7 separate regions of the Homo sapiens genome follow, and regions 2, 3, 4, 5, 6 and 7 are each linked to region 1. The links are contacts of gene promoters, found by promoter capture Hi-C in blood cells and fetal thymus (Javierre and others, 2016). All regions are on one chromosome and are shown on one strand. The core of a region is centred on a gene start or on the middle of the fragment in contact, and the rest is flanking DNA. Distances in the headings are between cores, read along the strand shown. Region 1 holds the start of DHX36 (DEAH-box helicase 36). Region 2 overlaps GMPS (guanine monophosphate synthase). Region 3 holds the start of GMPS (guanine monophosphate synthase). Region 4 holds the start of SLC33A1 (solute carrier family 33 member 1). Region 5 holds the start of C3orf33 (chromosome 3 open reading frame 33). Region 6 overlaps C3orf33 (chromosome 3 open reading frame 33). Region 7 holds the start of PLCH1 (phospholipase C eta 1).

Evidence for each region. Contacts are between HindIII fragments. The CHiCAGO score rates a contact against its expected background, and 5 or more counts as called.
Region 2: a fragment that was not itself captured here is called in contact with the fragment with the promoter of DHX36 in region 1 in 1 of 17 cell types (naive CD8 T cells); the score reaches 6.3 in naive CD8 T cells.
Region 3: the fragment with the promoter of GMPS here is called in contact with the fragment with the promoter of DHX36 in region 1 in 1 of 17 cell types (neutrophils); the score reaches 5.3 in neutrophils.
Region 4: a contact is called between a fragment that was not itself captured here and the fragment with the promoter of DHX36 in region 1, in 7 of 17 cell types (activated CD4 T cells, naive CD4 T cells, non-activated CD4 T cells and 4 more). The highest score is 13.2, in activated CD4 T cells.
Region 5: the fragment with the promoter of C3orf33 here is called in contact with the fragment with the promoter of DHX36 in region 1 in 2 of 17 cell types (naive CD8 T cells and non-activated CD4 T cells); the score reaches 8.6 in naive CD8 T cells.
Region 6: a contact is called between a fragment that was not itself captured here and the fragment with the promoter of DHX36 in region 1, in 1 of 17 cell types (naive CD8 T cells). The highest score is 5.4, in naive CD8 T cells.
Region 7: a fragment that was not itself captured here is called in contact with the fragment with the promoter of DHX36 in region 1 in 4 of 17 cell types (non-activated CD4 T cells, monocytes, activated CD4 T cells and 1 more); the score reaches 7.7 in non-activated CD4 T cells.

The regions. Positions count from the first base shown.
Region 1 is chr3:154,322,991-154,326,219 of GRCh38, reverse strand. It overlaps DHX36 (DEAH-box helicase 36), which reads left to right and starts at 1,733. Exons shown (of 25, transcript NM_020865.3): 1 at 1,733-2,046. The coding sequence starts at 1,804. RefSeq lists an enhancer at 1,546-1,840. The HindIII fragment of the contact is 15,842 bases long and covers 1-3,229 here.
Region 2 is chr3:155,913,695-155,916,923 of GRCh38, reverse strand. GMPS (guanine monophosphate synthase) reads right to left here. Exons shown (of 16, transcript NM_003875.3): 8 at 2,354-2,505; 9 at 732-905. Among named protein-coding and RNA genes, the nearest start is that of GMPS, 45 kb to the right of the region's middle. The HindIII fragment of the contact is 3,503 bases long and covers 1-3,229 here.
Region 3 is chr3:155,868,872-155,872,100 of GRCh38, reverse strand. It overlaps GMPS (guanine monophosphate synthase), which reads right to left and starts at 1,451. Exons shown (of 16, transcript NM_003875.3): 1 at 1,204-1,451. The coding sequence starts at 1,230. RefSeq lists enhancers at 658-1,417, 1,957-2,006 and a silencer at 597-1,816. The HindIII fragment of the contact is 27,854 bases long and covers 1-3,229 here.
Region 4 is chr3:155,851,318-155,854,546 of GRCh38, reverse strand. It overlaps SLC33A1 (solute carrier family 33 member 1), which reads left to right and starts at 120. Exons shown (of 6, transcript NM_004733.4): 1 at 120-1,324. The coding sequence starts at 550. RefSeq lists enhancers at 1-92, 463-532. The HindIII fragment of the contact is 1,501 bases long and covers 880-2,380 here.
Region 5 is chr3:155,804,708-155,807,936 of GRCh38, reverse strand. C3orf33 (chromosome 3 open reading frame 33) reads left to right here and starts at 1,659. Exons shown (of 5, transcript NM_001308229.2): 1 at 1,659-1,798. The coding sequence starts at 1,685. RefSeq lists a silencer at 1,375-1,724. The HindIII fragment of the contact is 11,000 bases long and covers 1-3,229 here.
Region 6 is chr3:155,774,046-155,777,274 of GRCh38, reverse strand. C3orf33 (chromosome 3 open reading frame 33) reads left to right here. Exons shown (of 5, transcript NM_001308229.2): 3 at 1,427-1,574. Among named protein-coding and RNA genes, the nearest start is that of PLCH1, 31 kb to the right of the region's middle. The HindIII fragment of the contact is 1,020 bases long and covers 1,180-2,199 here.
Region 7 is chr3:155,744,808-155,748,036 of GRCh38, reverse strand. It overlaps PLCH1 (phospholipase C eta 1), which reads left to right and starts at 2,966. Exons shown (of 23, transcript NM_014996.4): 1 at 2,966-3,197. RefSeq lists enhancers at 3,004-3,213, 3,108-3,229. The HindIII fragment of the contact is 869 bases long and covers 1,275-2,143 here.

The sequences.
Region 1 (3,229 bases), core at 484-2,983:
AAGTAATTTTATCTTCTAATGTCTCCTGATTCCAATTCTTTCCACATGTAATGCCCTGTCATCCCATTTTGCCTCCCCTACATCACATTAACTAGTTTCCCTGTATCCACTCTTGTCTCCGCTATTTATTTCCAATTGAAGCAGTCAAAATAACCACTGCTCTGCATAAACATATCACTGTTCTTTAAGTGGCACATAAGTTTTCCATAATCAGACCCCTATCTACCTCTTTGGCCTTCCCCATCAGGCTTTAAGATTCAGGGTAGTTGTTTTAAGTTCTCCGATGTCTCACATCATTATCTGTCTTTACACATTGTTCCTTTCACCTGCCATACTTTTCTTCTGCCCATTAGTCTGGCAAAAGTCTACTTATCTCAAAAGTTGTTGCATAACTCACCTAACTCCAAAATTAAATTCTTTTGCTGTAGTATCTCTTGGCTCTTAGGGAGGAAATACTTTTTGTCTACTTTCTTAGATTCAGTGTTTGCAGGCCCCAGACTTAAAGTGACAAAACAGATTAGCAAAAGAAAAGACAGACTTAACCACATACATAATAGAGTTCACAGAAAAAGGTGATTCAGGGAGGTAGAGTTCTGACTTATCTACCATCTTATAAAGGGAAGGAAAGGGGAAAACAGCACGTATGGAAAAAACAAATGACTTTTAGTAAAAATAAATGACACCTTAAAACAGATGCCAGATATGATAGCTTTGTGACAATGTCTATTCAAGTGTGTTGCCAGCTTCTAACCTCCAGTGATAAGAGTCAGTCTTCCTGGGTTTCCCTCCCAGGGAGGAGCTTGATTTGAATTCCTCCGTGTGGTTCTGCATTTAGACAGGTAGATTTCAGAAACTCAAATGTCTTTGCTCAAAATAATTTTTAGGCCACAATGGTGTATTGTAGACCCCTTCCTGGCATACAGCATTTCCCTTTCTTAATTCACTGCACAAAGATAGCCTTTGTCTTTCCCTTAAGACTGTAGGCAAATAAAAGCTCATGCCATACTTGCTTTGTTCAGTGAGTATTCCCAGCACCTTTACATCAGTTAACTGTAACATGAGCTGGATATCTCCTGGTGTACATCCAAGCCTGTGTGGCCCAATTACTTGATTATTCAAGAACAGCTTGTACAAAACACTCAGTGTGCTGGTTAATAAACAGTATGTGGCTTCATATGAACACATGAATCTTCAAAGTAGTTTATTTACATTGCCTAAGAGCTCTGCACCGAATTTGGGTAGACACGCTCATCTTAACACTATTGGATAAACGTACTAAATAGTGACAACACTTTCAAGGAGGTAAGGGGATTTTAAATTACATATTTGAATAGTTGTCAGGCTGTTTTCAAGACTAGAAGAACTCATTTTTTAGAGACTTTTCTTTAGAAGACGGCGAATTGATCCAAGGGTTCTTTTGTTTCAATCAACGTTTACTACCCTAGGACCTAAGTGCAAAAAAACTGCGGATTTACCAGGAATAAGAAAGTAAAAACCAAAAGCTATTGGCTCACTTGCTGGGCCTAGGGAAAGAAAATCTACGAGCCTTTGGCTGGCTGTTGCTCCAGAGGTACAAAGATAAACAACTCGGGGGCTCAGACAGAACCTGATCCCTGCCACCCTCCAGACCACCGGGGTCGTCCTCCCGTGACGTCACCAGAAACCACTGCTTGTGACGCTAAATGGCCCGCCCTCTTGTGCGGTGCTACGGAAGCAAAACGGAAGTGGGCGCACAGTGGCTTCCGGGCCCGGACGCCATTTCCAGCGGTTGCTGGTTCTGACGGGTTGTAGTCTGCCAGGACAATGAGTTATGACTACCATCAGAACTGGGGCCGTGATGGGGGTCCCCGCAGCTCCGGTGGGGGCTATGGAGGGGGGCCAGCAGGGGGTCATGGAGGTAACCGAGGCTCCGGAGGAGGCGGCGGCGGCGGAGGGGGTGGTCGAGGCGGCAGGGGCCGGCATCCCGGGCACCTGAAAGGCCGCGAAATCGGCATGTGGTACGCGAAAAAACAGGGGCAGAAGAACAAGGAAGCGGAGAGGCAAGAGGTAATCTCGGATTCAGTAGTGGAGAGGATGAGGCAGCACAGGTTTTCTTCTCTCTCCCGCTGCCCCCTTTTTCTTGGTTTTGTTTCTTAAGTGATGCACGTGTTTTGTGAAATGTAAATGAGGCGCAAATATATTATGCTGGCGCTCCCCGTAGCGGGTGTACTGCGTAACATTAGCCATGCTCATCTGACCAAAAACAGGCAGGATTTATGCAGGCTGAATATATACTTTGCTTAAAGGACTTGAGAACTGTGACAAAGCAAATGTTAAGTTCACGTTCCAACCGAAATTAACTTTATTAGGAGTGTCGTTGTCGTATCTCTGGCCGTCCTTTCCCTTAGAATAATAATTGTCACTTTAAGGTCTTTGCCTGGTGAAGAAGCACATAGCGACCTTTCTACATTTGAGATAGGTTTGCGCGGAACAAAAGCAGGCAGACACTGTTTTGGATGTGGATCATTCAGAAAAATAGTCCAGCTTTTATTATTAGTGTTAAAATTATCTGCAAACCTAGGTTTTTGTTTTTTATGTTGGGGTGGAGAAATTTCTATTGATGAGCAGATTCTCTTTGAAAAGGAAAATGAAAGGAATCTCCAGAGATGATTTGGCTTACTCTCCTCTCTTCAGGTGATTGTCAGGTTGATTTGTGTCTTAAAGATCTGTAGTAAGGGAAACAAAGTTCTCCGAGTGACTAGTAAATAAAATTCTAATAAAAAATAATTTTTATCATTAAGCAGGAACTTTCTTAGTATAGGCCTTTGGTGACTTTTTAAAAGCACCTTATAAAATGTATTATAGAGTGTAATTAGATCATCATTTAGGCAACTTTTTTTTTTTTTAAGACAGGGTCTCACTCTGTCGCCCAGGCTGGAGTGCAGTGGCACGATCTTAGCTCACTGCAACCTCCGCCTCCCAAGTTCAAGCGATTCTCCTGCTTCAGCCTCCCGAGTAGCTGGGATTACAGGCGTCCGCCACCACCTCCGGCTAATTTTTGTATTTTTAGTAGAGACGGGGTTTCACCATGTTGGCCAGGTTGGTCTCGAACTCCTGACCTCAGGTGATCCACCCAACTCGGCCTCCCAAAGTGCTGGGATTACAGGCGTGAGCCACCACGCCAGGCCTAGACTACTATTTTTAAACCGTTCCATTTCTTTTTATTTCTTTTAACCATGTCATGTTCATT
Region 2 (3,229 bases), core at 470-2,969, 1.6 Mb before region 1:
ATAACAACAAGTCTTGGTGAGGATGTGGAAAAATTTGAATCTCATAGATTGCTAGTGCGAATGTAAAATTGTATCATCATTTTAAATAATAGTTTGGCAATTCATCAAAATGTTAAACCTTAAGACCTAGCAATTCTACTCCCAGGCATATACCAAAAGAAATAAAAACACATATCCACAAAAACTTATGACCAGTATTCATGGCGGCATTACTTATAACAGCCAAAAAGTGGAAATAACCCAAAAGCCCATCAGCTGATCAAAGGATAAATACAATGCATTATACCCATAAGATGGAATATTATCTGGCAATAAATAGGAATAAAGTTCTGATACATGCAGCAACATGGATGAACCTTGAAAACATTACGGTAAGTAAAAGAAGCCAGTCATAAAAGACCACATATTGTACCATTCCATTTATATAAAATGCCCAAAATAAGCAAATCTATAGAGACAGAAAATAAATTAGTGGTTGGTAATTGCCTAGGGCTGGCAAGAAAGGAGGAAAGGAGGAGCTGGGGGGTGGGGGCAGGATGACAATGACAACAACAGGTAGAACGAGGAGTGACTGCTAATGGGTATAAGGTTCCTTTTTAGGGTAAGGAAAATGTTCTAAAATTAGATGTGGTGATGGTTATGCAATTCTGTGAATATTAGAGGGAAGAGGAGGGAAGAATGGAAGACTTTCCATGTATCTACTTTATGAAAAAGTTTTCATAAACTTTTACCTCCTCTCTCAACTTTCTGATGAGCTCTGTGTCATTGTGATGGGTTTTGATGAGTTCAGCTTTGCCACTTGCAACAAGGGATGCACTTTCAATTAGATCAGGCCGTAAAGTACCTTGGGCAAGGAAAACCTCCTCTGGTTTCAAGTTCATTTCTCCAATTACTTCATTGGCAATCTATAATCAACAGGAGTAAAACAGCCTTGTAAGAGATAACTTTTTTTAAAAGCAAAAGTTTATACTTTCAGCTAAATCTCTTAGAGTCCTTTAGAAATACTGATCAGAAAATAAAATCCACCAATCTCCAAAATAAACTCCTTAATGAACATGTCCTCTAACACGATTCAAAAAGGTACATGAGGCCAAACACAGTGGCTCACGCCTGTAATCCCAGCACTTTGGGAGGCTGAGTGGGGTGGATCACTTGAGGCCAGGAGTTCGAGACCAGCCTGGCCAACATGATGAAACACCATCTCTACTAAATATACAAAATTAGTGGCCAGGTGTGGTGGCTCACGCCTGTAATCCCAGCACTTTGGGAGGCAAGGCAGGCAGATCACAAGGTCAGGAGTTTGAGACCAGCCTGACTAACATGGTGAAACCCCGTCTCTACTAAAAATACAAAAACTAGCCGGGCATGGTGGCACACGCCTGTAATCCCAGCTACTCAGGAAGTTGAGGCAGGAGAATCGCTTGAACCCTGGAGGCAAAGTTTGCAGTGAGCCAAGATTGCACCACTACACTCCAGCCTGGGCGGCAGAGTGAGACTCCATCTCAAAAAAAGAAAAAAATTAGCTGGGCATGGTGGTGCATGCCTGTAATCCCAGCTACTCGGGAGGCTGAGGCAGGAGAATCGCTTGAACCCAGCAGGTGAAAGTTGCCGTGAGCCAAGATCGCTCCATTGTACTCCAGCCTGAGTGACAAGAACAAAACTCCGCCTCCAAAAAAAAAAAAAAACAAAAACAAAGGTATGTGAACATTCCATTCAAGAGCTTGAAATTAGCCATTGAGATAATCAATGAATTAAAGTCTATGATAAGCTGAATACATCTACTCTTAAAGACATCTATTCTTAAAATAATAGCCTGGCAATGTAGGCAAACATGTTTATTAAAACATAAAACAGTTGGCTGGGCATAGTGGCTCACACCTGTAATCCCAGAAGTTCGGGAGGCTGAGGCGGGCGGATCATGAGGTCAGGAGATCCGGACCAACCTGGCCAACATGGTGAAACCCCCGTCTCTACTAAAAGTACAAAAATTAGCTGGGCATGATGGTGCACCCCTGTAGTCCCAGCTACTTAGGAGGCTGAGGCAGGAGAATCACTTGAACCCAGAAGGCAGAGGTTGCAGCGAGCCGAGATCGTGCAACTGCACTCCAGCCCAGCCTGGTGACACAGCAAGACTCTGTCTCAAAAAAACAAAAAAAAAACCAAACAACAACAAAAAAACATAAAACAGTTTCTACTGGTCAATATAATGACAATATACAATAAAACTCTCAGCCACATAAGAAAAAGGATTAAAATTAGCTAATTTGGTTATTTGATATAGTGACAAGGAAAAACAAATACTAAGATTCACATCAAAAATAGTACATGTTGAGGATATTAAAAACAAAGGTACCTTAACAAAAGTATCCCCAATGATTTTTCTTTTCTCTTCAGGACTTGTGGTCATATTTAACGTTTTGCTAATTCTTTTCCGTGGGGTTCTATCTTCATCTGATATTGGTAGGGTTGTTGTTCCATTGTAGAAAGAATGAGCAGCATTTATCACTGGAGGAAAGGGGAGAAGCGTTTTAAATTGGTATAACATGTTTTTTAATCAAAAATAACAAGTCAAAATACAGAAAGAAAAGCTATTTCTTTCCCAGTCTGAAGAGCAGTCCTTTGATCTCCCCTAAATCTGCCTACAAATTTCAATAAACTATCAATATTCAAGAATTATTGGCCGGGCCCGGTGGCTCATGCCTATAATCCCAGCACTTTGGGAGGCCGAGACAGGTGGATCACGAGGTCAGGAGATCAAGACCATCCTGGCTAACATGGTGAAATCCCATCACTACTAAAAATACAAAAAATTAGCTGGGTGTGGTGACGGGTGCCTGTAGTCCCAGCTACTTGGGAAGCCGAGGCAGGAGAATGGTGTGAACCCGGGAGGCGGAGCTTGCAGTGAGCAGAGATTGTGCCACTGCACTCCAGCCTGGGTGACAGAGAGAGACTCCATCCCCAAAAAAAAAATAAGAAAAGAAAAAGAACTATCAATAAATCCTGAGTAACAGAATTCAGATACAGGCACTCATTAAATTTTGTTTCTGTGAGAATCTCCTGGCATTTAGATCTAGGGCCATGACATCACAAATTATGCTGATTAGGGCCGGCACGGTGGCTCACACCTGTAATACCAGCACTTTGGGAGGCCAAGTTGGGTGGATCACTTGAGGTCAGCAGTGTGAGACCAGCCTGGCCAAAATGGCAAAACCACATCTCTACTAAAAAC
Region 3 (3,229 bases), core at 202-2,701, 1.5 Mb before region 1:
CCACCTCGAAGTATACAATCCCACCCCCCGAATGAAATTTAATTAAGTTTTTTCCTAAAGCTAGGCCCTCAACAGCGTACAGAGGAGGTGTATCTTAATGAAGTAAATCGCAATTCAAAACTGCACGGTTTCCCGCTGGCAAAACTGACTTAGTGAAGGTCAGAAAGAACTCCAGGCCAATGAAAATTTTAATACAGAGGTGAAAGCGAAGGTGCCCAATTCAAAAGCGGGACGAAAGTAAGAGGAACGGTCTAAGAAAAGTGAGTTGGAGGAGAGATGAGCAGCAGCGGTCAAACGTGCTCTCCCCGCCGGGTACGTCAAGGCGGCAACTTTTCCAGCACTCCGGAACTCCGGACTGCCCAGGCCTCGGGCGAGCTGGCACGGCTCGCGTCCCGGGGAGGGACCCCAAAGGCGGGGAAGCGGGTTACCCCGCAAACCAGCAAGCTCGACAGGGAGCAAGCTGGACGGGGGCGGGACCTGGACACACACCCTTTCCTCTCTGAGAAGGAAGCGGGGAGGGAGAACGGAGTGCGCGACCCTGGGGCCACCAGCCCTCACGCGGGCCTGCAGGGGCGTTGGGGGAGGGGGAAGACAGTGCAGCTCCGAGGGGTTCGTCCAGAACCGGCCTAACCGCCGCGGAGCCCAAGGCTGGCGGGGGGAATGGAGCGGGCCTCGCCGAGGGCAGGCGGGAAACGGGGTGGCGGGAAGACCAGAGGCCGGCCCAGCTCCAACGCCGCACAGGAGGCCCCGACCCTGCCCTGCCTTCGGCGGGCCCCGGGATCGCCACAACGGGCCCCCAGCCTCCCAGAGGGACGGGGTGGGAGCCGAGGAAGCCCCCACCCCGACACGCAGACACACAAGCCCGCTCGCCGCCCTACCCCCACCCTCGCGCCGCGCTCGCGGGCTCTGCGCCCCACAGCGGCGCGGGGGAGGCGGGGGCCAGCGACGCGGCCGCGGGGAGCTGATGCCCTCCCCGACGCCCGGACCTCGACACGCAGACAAGATCAACAAAGCATCGCCGCTCCCGAGATAAAACATGCCACAGGCCCCGACCAGGGACTCTACGACGCGTGGCTGCCCGGGGCGCAGGGCTGCGCGGACGGGCTGGGGGAAGGGGGTGGGGAAGGGCCTCGCGGGGTGGCTCCCCGGTCCGGGAGCCTCGCCTCCGCCGGGATGCGGTGCTGCAGGGACCCCCACGCTGACCTTGGAGTCTCCGTTGCACAGAGCCATCGGGGCCAGGGCCGGAGCCGCGGCGGTGACGGCGACAGTACGAGACGGGGCGGGAGGGTGCCGGAAGGGTCGGCGCCGCGGGCTGAGGTTGAGAAGGAGGCCTGGTCGAGGAGCAGCCGGCAGCGGAGAGGAGCCAGCCGCCAGAAAAGCGCCGAATGGAGCAACAGCAGCGGAGCGCGGGCCCCAGCGCCGCGGGAGAGAAGACCAGCAGCGCGCACGCTGCCCCCGCCTCCTGCTTCCGCCCCGGCCGGCCACTGGGAGGAGCCAGAGCCCGTTCGGCTTGGCAGCCGAGCCTCAGATACCCTCCGCAGCCGCCGCCAAACCGGCCGGCCCTCGAGAGGAGGGGCTCGCGGCGCCCGGCCCCGCCCCCAGCCCGGTCCCCGCCGGCAAAGCCGGCCGGGTCTCCCGCGGCCCGCCCTTGGGAGGAGGAGCCCGCGGCATCCACCGGCTCCGCCCCTCCTGCCCTCGCACCGAGGAGCCCGCCCCGGAGGAGGGGCCTGTGGCGCCGGCCAGGAGAAAAACCGAAGCCGAATCCGAGCTAGTTTGCTGCTGCCGGATTTGCCTGCTACCTTGGATGACTTCGGGAGGCTGGCGGCACCGAAGAGGCCTCCTGAGAGCTGGGCCCCTGGCGGAACTCTTAGCCGGTGGCGTGGCCTTATCTCAGGTTGCTGGACATGAAGGAGGCCAAGGCTGCTTTGGAAAGTTCCGTGGCCATATCTCAAGGATGTCATTGTAGGAACTGATCACTTAGATACTTCAAAAGTTATACAGCTCCCCACAAATACAGCAGGTGCAGTATTTCCAAAGAAAAGGGAGTTTGGGAGTGGTAATCTGGTGAGCAGCTGGCCCAGGGAACTGGTCGTGAAGCTCTGTTTGCACAACAGTGTTTTTATTGGAATTGTTTGTGGGGAAGGGGCTGCAGTCCCTCCACCTACCCCTTGGCAACCATCATGATGATGAGGTGTTACTTTGAATTTGGTTACCTAGAGGCCTAAATCGAGATTGGGGTATAAAGAATAATACTTGAGATGGCTTCCAGCTAACAAAGCCTTTCCACAAATATTTTTATTATAATACAGCCAACATTTTGCTGCAGTCATTCTTGTGTCAGACTGTAGCTAGGGTATTAAGGAGCCAGAGTGAGAAAATACTTTAAAAGCTAACTTTAACCAATCCCGTGAAAGTAGTAAGGTAGGATTGATGTTCTTATCCTTTTTACAAATGAGGAAATTGAGGCTTAGTGAGATAATGTGCCTCTCAGTATATATAGAATGTAAGGCCTGCCCAATCTGGGAAAGTGTAGACAGTTTATTAGTGAAATATTTACAAAAACGAAAGGCTTAAGGTCCTAGTGGGCCTGAGACTTAAGTATTTCGCTTACCTTTTTTTGAACGGAAAATTGAATATTTGAACTCTCCAAAGCCATGGATACTGGCTTCTCTGGGTAGGTCTGTATGCACAATCTAAAGAAGAGTGCAGTAACCAATAGGAGAACCTCAACTTACATAAACATCCACCCCTAATGGAGTGGAATGTGATGTGATATACTGGCATTAAGGATTGGCTAAGTCCCATCTATCTTAAACAATGCTTAGTTTAAATATATTCTAGGCTGGGCGTGGTGGCTCACACCTGTAATCCCAGCACTTTGGGAGGCCTAGGCGGGTGGATTACCTGAGGTCAGAGTTCCAGAACAGGCTGGCCAACATCATGAAACCTGTCTCTACTAAAAATACAAAAATTAGCCAGGCGTGGTGGCATGCGCCTATAATCCCAGCTACTCGGGAGGCTGAGGCAGGAGAATCGCTTGAACCCGGGAGGTGGAGGTTGCAGGGAGCCAAGATCATGCCATTGCACACCAGCCTGGGTGACAACAGCGAAACTCCATCTCAAAATAAACAAATAAATAAATAAATTCTAGTGGTCACCTGTGCTTAATGGCTAAGAATGTTGGCATGCACACAATATAGGATCCTGATATTCTTTCTTCTTTAGCTTC
Region 4 (3,229 bases), core at 381-2,880, 1.5 Mb before region 1:
CCAAGCATTGTTTCCGAACTGGGCCACGAGAGCGTGTCCCTGATTGGCTTGCTCTGGAGGCTGGGAAGGGACCTGTTAGAGACTGGGACCACTTCCTGAAGCGCGAGGCAGGAAGTTATATGCTTTTTCTGGAGTCCTGTAGAGAAAGTGCTCTCTGCCGCATTGATAGCAGCGAGAGCTGGAGGTGTTGGGTCGGGAGACCAGCCGTTCGATCCCGCCGCAGGTAGGAGCTGGTTTCCATCCTGGCACCACGGCACACACCTCCAGCCTCGAGCCCGGCGCTGCTGCCCGGGGGTCTCCTTCAGGCTCTTTGACGCCGTTCCAGGGGGCACCTATCCAGGCATCCTCTGGGCCTCTAGCCAGAGGACTGGCTCCCGGCTTCAGCACTCCGGGCTGCAGTAAGAAGTGCCCTTATCGCTCTGAGCCCTGCCACCATCCCGTGAACCACCGAAACCCTGGTCCAGCGCGACAGCCTTGGACCTGGGACTGGACGGATCCAAAACGCTCAGCCTCGGCCCCCCACAGACGGGGCTCTGCATCGTCTCTGATATGTCACCCACCATCTCCCACAAGGACAGCAGCCGGCAACGGCGGCCAGGGAATTTCAGTCACTCTCTGGATATGAAGAGCGGTCCCCTGCCGCCAGGCGGTTGGGATGACAGTCATTTGGACTCAGCGGGCCGGGAAGGGGACAGAGAAGCTCTTCTGGGGGATACCGGCACTGGCGACTTCTTAAAAGCCCCACAGAGCTTCCGGGCCGAACTAAGCAGCATTTTGCTACTACTCTTTCTTTACGTGCTTCAGGGTATTCCCCTGGGCTTGGCGGGAAGCATCCCACTCATTTTGCAAAGCAAAAATGTTAGCTATACAGACCAAGCTTTCTTCAGTTTTGTCTTTTGGCCCTTCAGTCTCAAATTACTCTGGGCCCCGTTGGTTGATGCGGTCTACGTTAAGAACTTCGGTCGTCGCAAATCTTGGCTTGTCCCGACACAGTATATACTAGGACTCTTCATGATCTATTTATCCACTCAGGTGGACCGTTTGCTTGGGAATACCGATGACAGAACACCCGACGTGATTGCTCTCACTGTGGCGTTCTTTTTGTTTGAATTCTTGGCCGCCACTCAGGACATTGCCGTCGATGGTTGGGCGTTAACTATGTTATCCAGGGAAAATGTGGGTTATGCTTCTACTTGCAATTCGGTGGGCCAAACAGCGGGTTACTTTTTGGGCAATGTTTTGTTTTTGGCCCTTGAATCTGCCGACTTTTGTAACAAATATTTGCGGTTTCAGCCTCAACCCAGAGGAATCGTTACTCTTTCAGGTAGTGTATTTAAGCTATTATGGTGTTAGGTTTATTTATCCTTTTGAAAGAGTGTGTGACGTTGGAGGGAAGCTCATTAATTTACTGGAAATCATTGTATGGGAGATAACTCAAGGTAAGTTTTCTGTTTCGTCCAAATGAGCTTCTTTGAAATATTAAAGCCAAAATGAATGATATTAGAGCAATCAAATGATCACTATGCGGTTAACAGGGAGAGGCAACCCATCAAATAACACAACCGAGTCCAGGGATTCATGCCACTTGCTTAATACACAAATGCACACTTTTAAAAAGTGTGGCTCATATGGTTCACATTTTTCCTTTTGTCTTGTTGGTTTTAGGTTTCTAGCTCTATACTTTCTAATCCATTTCTACCCCTACCGTTGTACCCAGAATCCAGCCTTCTAGTGAATGGAACAGGGTTTATTCGTTCAAACATTATTGAACCAGCTAAGGGACGGGATTCTAAGGCCTCTAATGAATAAGGCAGAGTTCTGCACTCAAGAAATAAGGAAGATGAACATTTTAGGAGAGTTCAGAGTTGCCAGTTAGTAACTGCCTTTGGGAGTCAGGCTTCACATTGCAGATAACATTTGACTTTGTTCTTGAATAAGATTCCACGAGGCCAGGAAATGGCACACCAGAATGCACAACACAAAGTAAAAGTGCACTGAGGCAGGAAAGTACAAAAAAGTACAGGACATTGCCTAAATTGTGGAACTGGGTTTGGGAAATCGTGCTGAGAAAGGCTGTGACTAAATTAGTAAGATTTTCTTTAATTACTATGGGAAAAGAGTTTAAAGTTTGTCCTGTAAGTAATGGAGGGTAAGTTCTAAAAAATTTCCCTGTTTCTCTGCATGAGTAAAACACATGTAAGTTTTTCTCTTTTTTCTTTTTTCTTCTTTTTTTTAATTGAGATAGTTGGGGGTCGGGGGGGCTGTCTCACTATGTTGGCCAGGCTGGTCTTGAACTCCTGGCCTCAGGTGATTCTCCCCCTCCTTGGCCTCCCAAAGTACTGGGAATTATAAGTGTGAACCACCCCACCTGGCCTAAGCTTTTTTGTTTGTTTGTTTGTTTTTAACTTTTGTAACAACTAGAAAACAAGTAAAATGACCAATATCAGGAATAACAATGTCAGGAATATAGTGAAATTCTTCATTCTGTCAGTGATGATGAATTTAGGGGATTCTGTTTTGAAATTTAAGCAACTGAACTTCTCAGCTTCTGTGCTACCTTGGAAATTCACAGTAGAGTAAATGTCCAGGTATGTGGTGGTGGTAGGAGGTGTCACAACTACACTATTTTCCTGCAATCTTATTCTCACAGACATCTAACCTTATGTACACCTCCTCAAACTGCTAATGAGTGAGCCACTATTACTGGTGAAATGATGGTGATAGTACTTTTTCCTCAGTTGTTTGGTTGAGAGATAATTGCTTTGCACCCAGGTAGATTTGTCTCAGTGTTCTGGGGTTCCACTCCTGCTTTATGAATAATTCACTGCTGGCCGGGCACAGTGGCTCACACCTGTAATCCCAGCACTTTGGGAGGCTGAGGTGGGAGGATCACTTGAGGTCAGGAGTTTGAGACCAGCCTGGCCAGCATGGCGAAACCCCATTTTTGAGACTCTGTCTCAAAAATAAATAAATAAATAAAATAAAAAATAAGTCACGACTGGGCACAGTGGCTCACACCTGTTATCCCAGCACTTTGGGAGTCTGAGGTGGGAGGACTGCTTGAGCTGAGGAGGTAGAGCCAGCTTGGGCAATACAGCAAGACCTCATCTCTACTAAAAATTAAAAAAAAAAAAAAAATAGCTGGGTGTTTTGCGAAGGCCTGTAACCCTAGCTACTCAGGAGGCTGAGGCAGGAGGATTGCTTCAGCCCGGGAGATTGTGGCTTCAGT
Region 5 (3,229 bases), core at 410-2,909, 1.5 Mb before region 1:
GTTAATGTCTGAGAAGCACCTAGAACAATACCTGGCGCATAGCAAGCAAGACCCAAGTGTCAACGATTCTTATTTACTTACTTTCTTGTCTTTTCTTTTTATTGAGACAAGAGTCTTGCTCTGTGGCCCAGGCTGGAGTGCAGTGGTGCGATCTTGGTTCACTGCAACCTCTGCCTCCTGGGTTCAAGCGATTCTTCTGCCTCAGTCTCCTGAGTAGCTGGGACTACAGGCGCATGCCACCACGACTGGCTAATTTTTTGTATTTTTAGTAGAGATGGGGTTTCACTGTGTTAGCCAGGATGGTCTCGATCTCCTGATCTCATGATTCAACCTCCTCAGCCTCCCAAAGTGCTGGGATTACAGGCGTAAGCCACCACGCCCGGCTGTTATTTACTTTCTATTGGCTATAACACAGAGACAATACACTCCTTGAAGCCACCACTCATAATATGTATTGTTAGGAATACAACATAGTCTGTTTTGACTTTTAAAGGTAATATTTGCATAAAGTAAAAAAAAAAAAAAAACTCCAGTAGTATAATTGCACTCTCCAATATAATAGCCACTAGCCATATGTGACTAAATTAATTAAAATTAATAAAGTTAAAAATTCAGTTCCTTGATTTCAGTAGCCACATTTCATGCAGGCAATACCCACATGAAGCTACAGGACATTTCTATCACTGAAAAATGTTTATTAGAGGTGGCAGATTGTGAAACCTCTTGCCCTTTCCTACCTTCCGTTTCCCGGGGTAGTCACTGTTACTAGTTTCTTGTATAGTATTTAGTATTTATTTATTTTTTTAGATGGAGTCTTGCTCTGTTACCCAGGCTGGAGTGTAGTGGCACGATCTTGGCTCACTGCAACCTCCGCTTCCCAGGTTCAAGCGATTCTCCTGCCTCAGCCTCTTGAGTAGCTGGGATTATAGGCGCATACCACCAGGTTCAGCTAATTTTTGTATTTTCAGTAGAGACGGAATTTCGCCATGTGGGCCAGGCTGGTCTCGAACCCCTGACCTCAAGTAATCCGCCCGCCTCGGCCTCCCAAAGTGTTGGTATTACAGGCAGGAGCCACCACACCCGGCCTCAATATATATTTTTATTACATAAATGTTACCATATTATTTGCACTGCTCTGTATCTAATTTTTGTTTTATTTAAAATGTATTAACTACTGTTTTCTAACAGCTCAAAGATTTAGAGCATGTGATATTAGGCTTTCAGAGCAGCTCTTAAAACTTTAAAGCACAATTTGAATATAAGAAATATGCATAGGTTTCAAGGACAGGTCGTATTTGGTTAAAAAATATGCATATGCTGTTCCTTGGGAGCAGGTGGAAGGAATGAATTACTTCAATTTCCTTCCTTGTGTGGCACCTGCGAAAACCACGTTGCAGCTGAGTGAATTGAAGTCACCAGCTGACAATCATCCTACTAGCTTGATAGGGAATGCTTCAGCCCCCACAGTGCTGCTCAGAGATCTCCTGCATCGTGGAATCACCCTGCATAAAAGCGGTTGGGGCACTGTTAAGACGTCTGATATCTGGGGCCCGCCCACTGGCGACTGCAGGTCGCGGGGCCACCCCGGTCCGCGGGGAAGGGGACCCCGCCGCCTTCCCGAGGTGAGCGGCGCCCCCTGCCGCCAGCCGGAGGAGCTCAGGGCCGCTCGCAGGAGGCCGGGAACATGGCGGGGCAGCCCGCGGCCACCGGCTCGCCGTCTGCCGACAAGGACGGAATGGAGCCCAACGTCGTGGCTCGGATCTCGCAGTGGGCAGACGACCACCTGCGCCTAGTCCGGGTACTGGGGCCACGCAGTCTGGGCGGGTGGTGGGCGCGGGGCGGCACAGAGCGACCCTGAGAACAACGTGAGGCCTCAGGCGTGGATCCCGCCGGGGCCGGGGAGCGACAGAAAACTGCGGGGGAATGAGCTCGAGAGGGCGACATCGCGAGTGTCGTGTGTGCGGGGCTGCAGAGGGCCGGGGGCGGGCCAGGGGGCCAGTTCGGCCTCATTATTACAAGGACTGTTCTGGATCCTTGCTGGGCTGTAGGGGGCACCTCAAAGGGTGAGACGCAGCCCAGCTCGGGGATGCCACCTGGTCCATTAGAGCATTTGGGGAGGGCCCAGAGAGGAGACCGAGGAAGAGCAGGGAAGTCCTGTACGCCTTGGGAGAGAGCATTTCTAATTTTTATTTATTTTTAATTTTATTTTTTAGGGACACGGTATTCCTCTCTGGCCCAAGCTGGAGTGCAGTGGCACGATCATAGCTCACTGCTGCTGCTCCACCCACTTCGGCCGAAAAGATCCTCCCACTTCAGCCTCCCGAGTAGCTGGAACCACAGGTTGCGTGCGCTACCCCATCGACTACTTTCTTTTAGAGTTAGAGACTGGGAGTCTTGCTATGTTGTCCAGGCTGTCCTCCAACTCCTGGCCTCAAGTGATCTCCCACCTCAGCCTCCCGAATAGATTTCTTTTTTTTGAGACAGGGTCTCCCTCTGTCACGCCTGGAGTGCAGTGGCACCATTATGTCTCGTTGCAGTCTCCACTTCCTGGGCTTAAGCAATCCTCCCACCTCAGGCTCCCGAGTAGCTAGGGCTACAGGCACTTGTCACCACACCAGGCTAATTTGTTTTTTGTTTGTAGAGGCAAGGTCTTCCTGTGTTGCCCAGGCTGGCCTTGAACTCCTGGTCTCAAGAGATCTGCCCGCCTCGGCCTCCCAAAGCACTGGGATTGTAGGCATCAGCCACTGGTGCCCTGCCTTTTTTTTTTTTTTTTTTTTTAAGTGAAGCACTAAGCCTCTGGAGTTGAAGCAAGAGAGGGACATGTTAGGCCACCAGGCAAGAGAGGGTTGTGGCTAAGACACAGAATTGTGGTGATATGAATTGTTTGGGTGTGAGGTACAAAGAAAGAGGTCCAAGGAGGCTGGTAATAGTTGCTGATAAGGAGAAGGAGTTGGAATAAATGATTTATTGGGGAAAATCTAGAGAACTTTTTGGACACGTACATGGAGATGTGCAAATTTGGAGATCATTATTAGACTTCTAAGCAGAATTGTAGATGCTGTCCTTGGCAACTGGATATGGGGTCCGGTGTTGAAGGGAGATCAGAACCTGACATAGAACATTGGGAATGACCTGCATAAACCTTAAGTAGCATTTAAAGCCGTGGGCTTGAATAACATCTCAGAGCAAGTGAGAAAAGCTACTGAAGAAGCCCTAGAATTTGGGGGAT
Region 6 (3,229 bases), core at 440-2,939, 1.5 Mb before region 1:
TGGTGCGATCTTGGCTCACTGCAACCTCCGCCTCCCAGGCTCAAGCAGTTCTCCTGCCTCAGCCTCCCAAGTAGCTGGGATTACAGGCATGCACCACCACGCCCGACTAATTTTGTATTTTTAGTAGAGATGAGGTTTCTCCATGTTGAGGCTGGTCTCGAACTCCTGACCTCAGGTGATCCTCCCGCCTCGGCCTCCAAAAGTGCTAGGATTACAGGCATGAGCCACCATGCCCGGCCAATTGTCACTATGATTTTTAAAAATAGATGATCTATTCAAATAGTCTATATATTTTATTTATTTCTTAAATCTCATTTATTTTATAGTATCTTGCCACCCTTTTTTTCCAATGCCATTGATTTGTTGGGAAAACCAAGTGATTTATTCTATAGTATATTCCACATTCTGGGTTTGTCTCCTACACTATTCTTGGTTATAAAAATCTTCAGTTCAACCTTACTGTCATAGGAAGTTGGGTACTAATTTATTCTTTTTTTTTTTTTTTTTTTTTTTTTGACAGAGTCAGGTTCTCGCTCTGTCACCCAGGCTGGAGTGTAGTGGTGCTATTATGGCTCACTGTAACCTTAAACTCCTGGGCTCAAGTGACCCTCCTGTTCTGTGTTACCATGCCCAGCTGATTTTTACATTTTTTTGTGGAGATGGTATCTTGCTATTGTTGCCCAGGCTGGTCTCAAACTTCTGGCCTCAAGTAACCCTCCAACCTAAGCCTCCCAAAGTGCTGGGATTATAGGCATAAGCCATCGTGCCTGGCTTTTCCTTCTGTTATGTGAGCCTCTTAACTAGCCATAATTATGAACAAAGCTTATGGTATTGTTAACGTGGAAAAAATAGGCATAAAGTGTTGATTGATTCCAGGATATCACCTAAGTGTTAGGGATTGTAGTACAGTCCTAATGTTGGCCTTTTTTTCGTTTTTCTTTTTTAAATGTGCCTTTTCTCCTACAAGATAAAAAAATGATAGTAAAAAAACCTGGTTGGTTAAGGTTCTAACTTAATTTGACTGAGCTTTGTTTAAGTTTTCCCGTCAGTATATGCATGAATAGATTGTACTTATGTGGAACAAGCTAGAGACTGTTTAACCAGATTTGTGTGGTGCCAGGCATAGATAGATACTCAATGTCTTTTGATGAATTGTGTCATATTTTGAGGTTATAAGCTTTTAGAAGTTAGGAGTCTGTTTAATGTCTTTATGTGGTTGGCTTGAAAATGGTGAATAATGATTTGTAAATAATGTTTCCATAAACACTTTTGATTAAATCATATTAAAGTAATATAAAATTAGGAACTAAATTTTAAAATGTTCATGGTTATGTACTCTTGTGAAATGTTTTGATAATTTGACATTTTAAATTTTGAGATGACAATAATAATAAGTGGTTATATTTTTCTCCCTGTAAATCAATAGACATCAAAATTTACAAGCTCTTCGGATATTCCAGTAGAATTTATAAGAAGAAATGTTAAACTACGTGGACGATTACGCCGAATAACTGAGAATGGTTTAGAAATTGAACATATACCTATTACTTTACCTATTATAGCTTCATTGAGAAGTAAGTAAGGTACAAGATTAATGAAACTAACTATTGTGGTCTTCTTTTATTAGAAGTTATTTATAAAATAGCAAAAAAAAGTCATTTTAATTCCTAATAACTCTCCATTGTCCATGAGAAAGTCTCAATTCTTGGCTTTATATATAAGGAGGTGGGAGGTGCTTAATTTGGCTCAGATTTCCTTTCTTCTTTCGTTCCTTTTTTTTTTTTTTGAGACAGAGTTTCACTTTTGTTGCCAGGCTGGAGTGCAATGGTGCAATTTCGGCTCACTGCAACCTCCGCCTCCCAGGTTCAAGCAATTCTCCTGCCTCAGCCTCCTGAGTAGCTAGGATTACAGTCATGCACCACCACGCCCAGCTAATTTTGTATTTTTAGTAGAGATGGGGTTTCTCCATGTTGGTCAGGCTGGTCTTGGACTTCTGACTTCAGGTGATCCGCCCACCTCGGCCTCCAAAAGTGCTGGGATTACAGGCCTGAGCCACCACACCCTGCCCCTTCACTGCTTTTTAAATTGAACTATTCAATCATTCATTCATTTCACAAATGTTGAGCACCTATTATGGTCTAGAACCTAAGCTAATTGTACAATGTTGGGTAAAACAAAGCTCTTTTAACCCTTGAAGCTTATAGTCTAGGTGCGAGATAGACAACAAACAAATGAAAAGTTGTCCTAAGAGCTATGAAGAAAAGGAGCAGGATACTAGGATAATTCTGGGTGGTCTTGGGGATGGCAGTATGGAATCTATACATATAGAGTAGTCAGAGAAGGCCTCATTGAGGAGTTGTTATTTAATCAGGGACCTGAAGAATTAAGAGGAGGCTAGCTAGAAAGAGGATAGGTGAGAAAGAGCATGATGCTTTTGACAAGACATACCAAGACTCCTGTGATTGAGGCACAGGGAGGAAGGGTGTAAGACAGGGGTATCCAATCTTTTGGCTTCCCTGGGCCACATTGGAAGAAGAAAAATTTTCTTGGGCCACACATTAAATACACTAATGATAGCTGATGAGCTAAAAAAAAAAAAAAAAAAAAAGCAAAACAATATCATAACGTTTTAAGAAAGTTTACAAATTTGTGTTGGGACATATTCAAAGCCATCCTGGGCTGCATGTGGCCCACAGGCTGCAGACTGGACAGGTTTGGTGTAAGATGCCACTTTCCTGCTGCAATTCCCATTTCTCCTTGCTTCACATCAAAGCACCCAGACACACAGACCTTCCTGCTGCTTATATGCATTCTCATAACCCTGGGCCTGGTTCTTTGCTTGGAGTATCTTGGCCTCTGTTGAACATCAATTGATTCTTCAGAATCTGGCTCAACTGTCAGCTCTTCTGTGAAGCCTCCTTAACTGCCAAGCTGCATTAGCCTCTTTCTTTGCTATACCCCACAACAATTTATAATACACTGCAATTATAGTACTTATTCACCTTTTTCTGCTATTATGTATTTAGGTTTATATTCCTTACTGAACTGTGAGCCCCTGATGGGCAAGGAGTTTTTCCTTTTTATTTTGGTATTCAAAGTCCCTAGAAAAAGACTTATTAGCCAATAGAGACTTGGTAAAATTTGTCAAATGAATTAATTTAATTCTATTTATGGCCCTTCTTAATATTCTGATTTTATGAAGAAAGGAGTTCTTGCTTTTTTAAAATCC
Region 7 (3,229 bases), core at 460-2,959, 1.4 Mb before region 1:
TATGTAGAAATCTGGCAGCTATTTAGAAGGGAGGCTGGGCAGTGGTGTGCCAGTATAATTAATGAGAGTCATCGCTTAGGAAATGAAGAGGGTGGGGGTTGGGAAGGATGCCTTTCACCATTCAATGGCATTTAAGAAAAATTGATGCTTTCTTAGCACTTTTAATGCTGGGAGGACATTAAGTCAAAGAATCACAGCAAAAGATTTTTGTAACTACTGTACAGATGGATGTCCCTGTGCTTGAAGAGGCAGGGCTAATTCAACCCCAGACTTTTCAGCCAGGCGGATTTCAACCTTGTATTGAGCTACCAGCAGGAGTTCTTTATACTTGGAAAAGTGGTAAATCCTTACTAAAAGATCATAGCTTGCATGACCAAGAGATCCTCTAGAAAAGGTACTTTACTACCATGTAGGATGTTTGTCTTACCTGCCCAAAGAAGTTTTAATGAAGATCTCATTTTCTCCAGTTCCCCTTTAACCAGTGAAAGAGGAGGGTATTATTTGTTTTGTTTTTCTATTTATTCTTTGGTAACCATGGAAGAGTTTGTGTAACCTAGAGAGGCTGCTTATTACCCACTGTCTAATCCCTTTGTTATTATTCCATACTCTGATTGTCACAAGCAGGAAAAATAGTTCTGTCCTGCTTCTAAAAACTTAGCAATGTAACACATTTTCTTGTTTTTAGTGATTTTCTCCAATTAATTAATTAATTGTTTTAGTGATTTTTCTCAGATAAATAATGTTAAAACGACTTGGAGAGAAAAGCTACATTAAAAGATTATGGATGTATAAATGTCCTAAACATTTAAGAACATGCATAATTATGATTCATACCAACTTCAGAATTATTACCTTTGGGAAGGGGTGGGGGTAACGAGTCAGGAGTTGGGGTTTAGCTATATCTGTAATGCTTTATTTAAAAAAGAAGGGCTGGGGGGAGCAGGAGTATTACATGGTATATATCCTGTTTTTGGTAGGTTTGAAATATCACACAATTTAAAAATTTAAAAGTTTACAAAATTATGGGAGTTGATTAAAACTATCAAAATAAAGAATGCATAGCAAACAAGTGCTCTTATTATGAACTTTGTGTCTGAGTTTATTTCAACATGTGCATCTGCATTTTTTCAGACTCAAGAAAGACAAACACCGGAGGTTAGGGGGTGAACTGCTGCTGTTGAGGGATTATCTTGGTGGTTTTTTTTTTTTTTTTTTTTTTTTTGGCTTTTCTATTCACCATGGAGGTTACCAGCAAAACAAATCTCCAACAAGCTTGTTTACAAAATATAAAGCAGTTTGGAGGCAGAGGGTTAATGACTTAATTTCTTATAAATTGAGGCTTGTGTATGGGCATGCAAAAAAACAAAAACAAAAACAAGTAAATTTGGGGAGGTTTCTTTCTATAGAGGCAAAGGACCTTACCTACATTTTTTCCAAATTGATTTCTTCCTGGTACTATTGGCAGGAAGAAATTCAAGTGGGTATTCTGGTGGCTTTTTTCTTTTTTCTGAGAGTCTAGGATTGTTTTCAGGACAAAGTTTCTTCTTGCCCATGGTGCTTTGCTGTGACATTGTAATTGCCTCTGTTGAATTGAATAATACAAATGGGTTGTTTCTATGGTATCGGCTAAGTGGGATGAAAAGGTGAAACCCTAGATCTTGCGCTGAGAGGTCACAGTGCTACCACCCTCCACACTGTCTGTCAAAGAGAACAGGCAGCCAAGGCCCTGAGCTCCAATCTCAGGCACTCATTTGTAACTTACTCGTTTGTAACTTCCTGGGCAAATTCACGCATGAAAAAAGAAAATGACTTTAGTTTATGTTGTCACTAAGCCCAGAAAATCCCTGCCAACCCCATGCTGCCAGCTTTCCTAGGACATTCTTATTGGAGGATTATTTTAAACTGAAAGGTGAGTGAAGAGCTGCGTCCCCACTCCTTCCCAGCCAGGCTTTGAACTAACAATAGGGCAGGTTGAATGAAGGCTGATAAATGTAAATCCTGGAATCCAGAAGCCGGATCACACCGCGGCCGTCTAGGCCAGCGGCGGTTCCAGCATCCGCCCCAAGCTGGTCACTCATCCTTTCAGTGCATTCAGTAGATTTCATCGTTTCATCAACACTTGAGTGCCTGCTTCGTGCAAGCTTTCCTCTGCCACCGCCGCCTTCTTACTCCCGGCAGGTTGCCCGCTTGAGTCAACCAGCCACTAAACGGATCTAAGTGAATAAGTGGCCTGTTAATGCCAAGGAGTAGCATTTCCAAATGAAGAGACTGGGGGTAAATAAAAGCAAAGTGTTACCATTTACACGCTCTCAATTTTAGTTGCACTTCACTCAGAGTAGATCTCTTTAATTTGCGGCATCGACAGATGCTATATTCTTAGAAATTTTTTTTTTTTAAAGGAGGTAAGACGGGCGTTTGAGAACACTTTTTACTTTGGTGCAAGTTGCACGCAGTTCCCATTCACTCAGAGTAGATCTCTTTAATTTGCGGCATCGACAGATGCTATATTCTTAGAAATTTTTTTTTTTTAAAGGAGGTAAGACGGACGTTTGAGAACACTTTTCACTTTGGTGCAAGTTGCACGCAGTTCCCATTCCCTGCGCCCTTCACTTCCAACTTTGTTTCTCCAACTCCTTTACCCCCCACCACCGAGGCCCTCTGGCTACAGCCCCGAGGGGTTACCCTGGGTTTCGAAACTTTTGAAACTTGCGGGGGAGTAAAAGTACTTCATTCCCAGTGCTTCTGGCCCTTGCCAAGCGGGGAGCCCCGCAGGAGAGTGTAAGCCAAGGGTTCCAGGTGCAGCCTTGGGGTTCCACGTGCAGCCCTAGGGTTCCGTACACCCATCCCGCCCGGGCCAGAGGAGGCAGCAGGCGCTCCAGTCCGCTCTCCGCAACTCCAGTTCCTGATTTCCTCGGAAGCTGCGGGGCCGAGAGGGAGGGGGGCTCCTGTGTGAGCGTGAGGATTTGAATGAGAAAGCAGGTTGTGGCGGCGGCGCCCTGCTCTTCCCCGCTCGTCTGGGGCTTCTGCTGGCTAGTGGGGAGAAGTGCTCTTCTAGGGGGGCTTTTCTGGCCCTTGGCAGGGGTTTGGAGTTGGAGTCACAGGGGCCAATAACTCATCACCCCAGCACTTCGGAGGTGGCTCCTTGTGCCACGGACTCCGAGGAGTCCTTCAGCTACTGAACACTCAAAGCTGAGGAGGTCAGTGCTTTCGGGGGAAGAAGGGGCCCAGG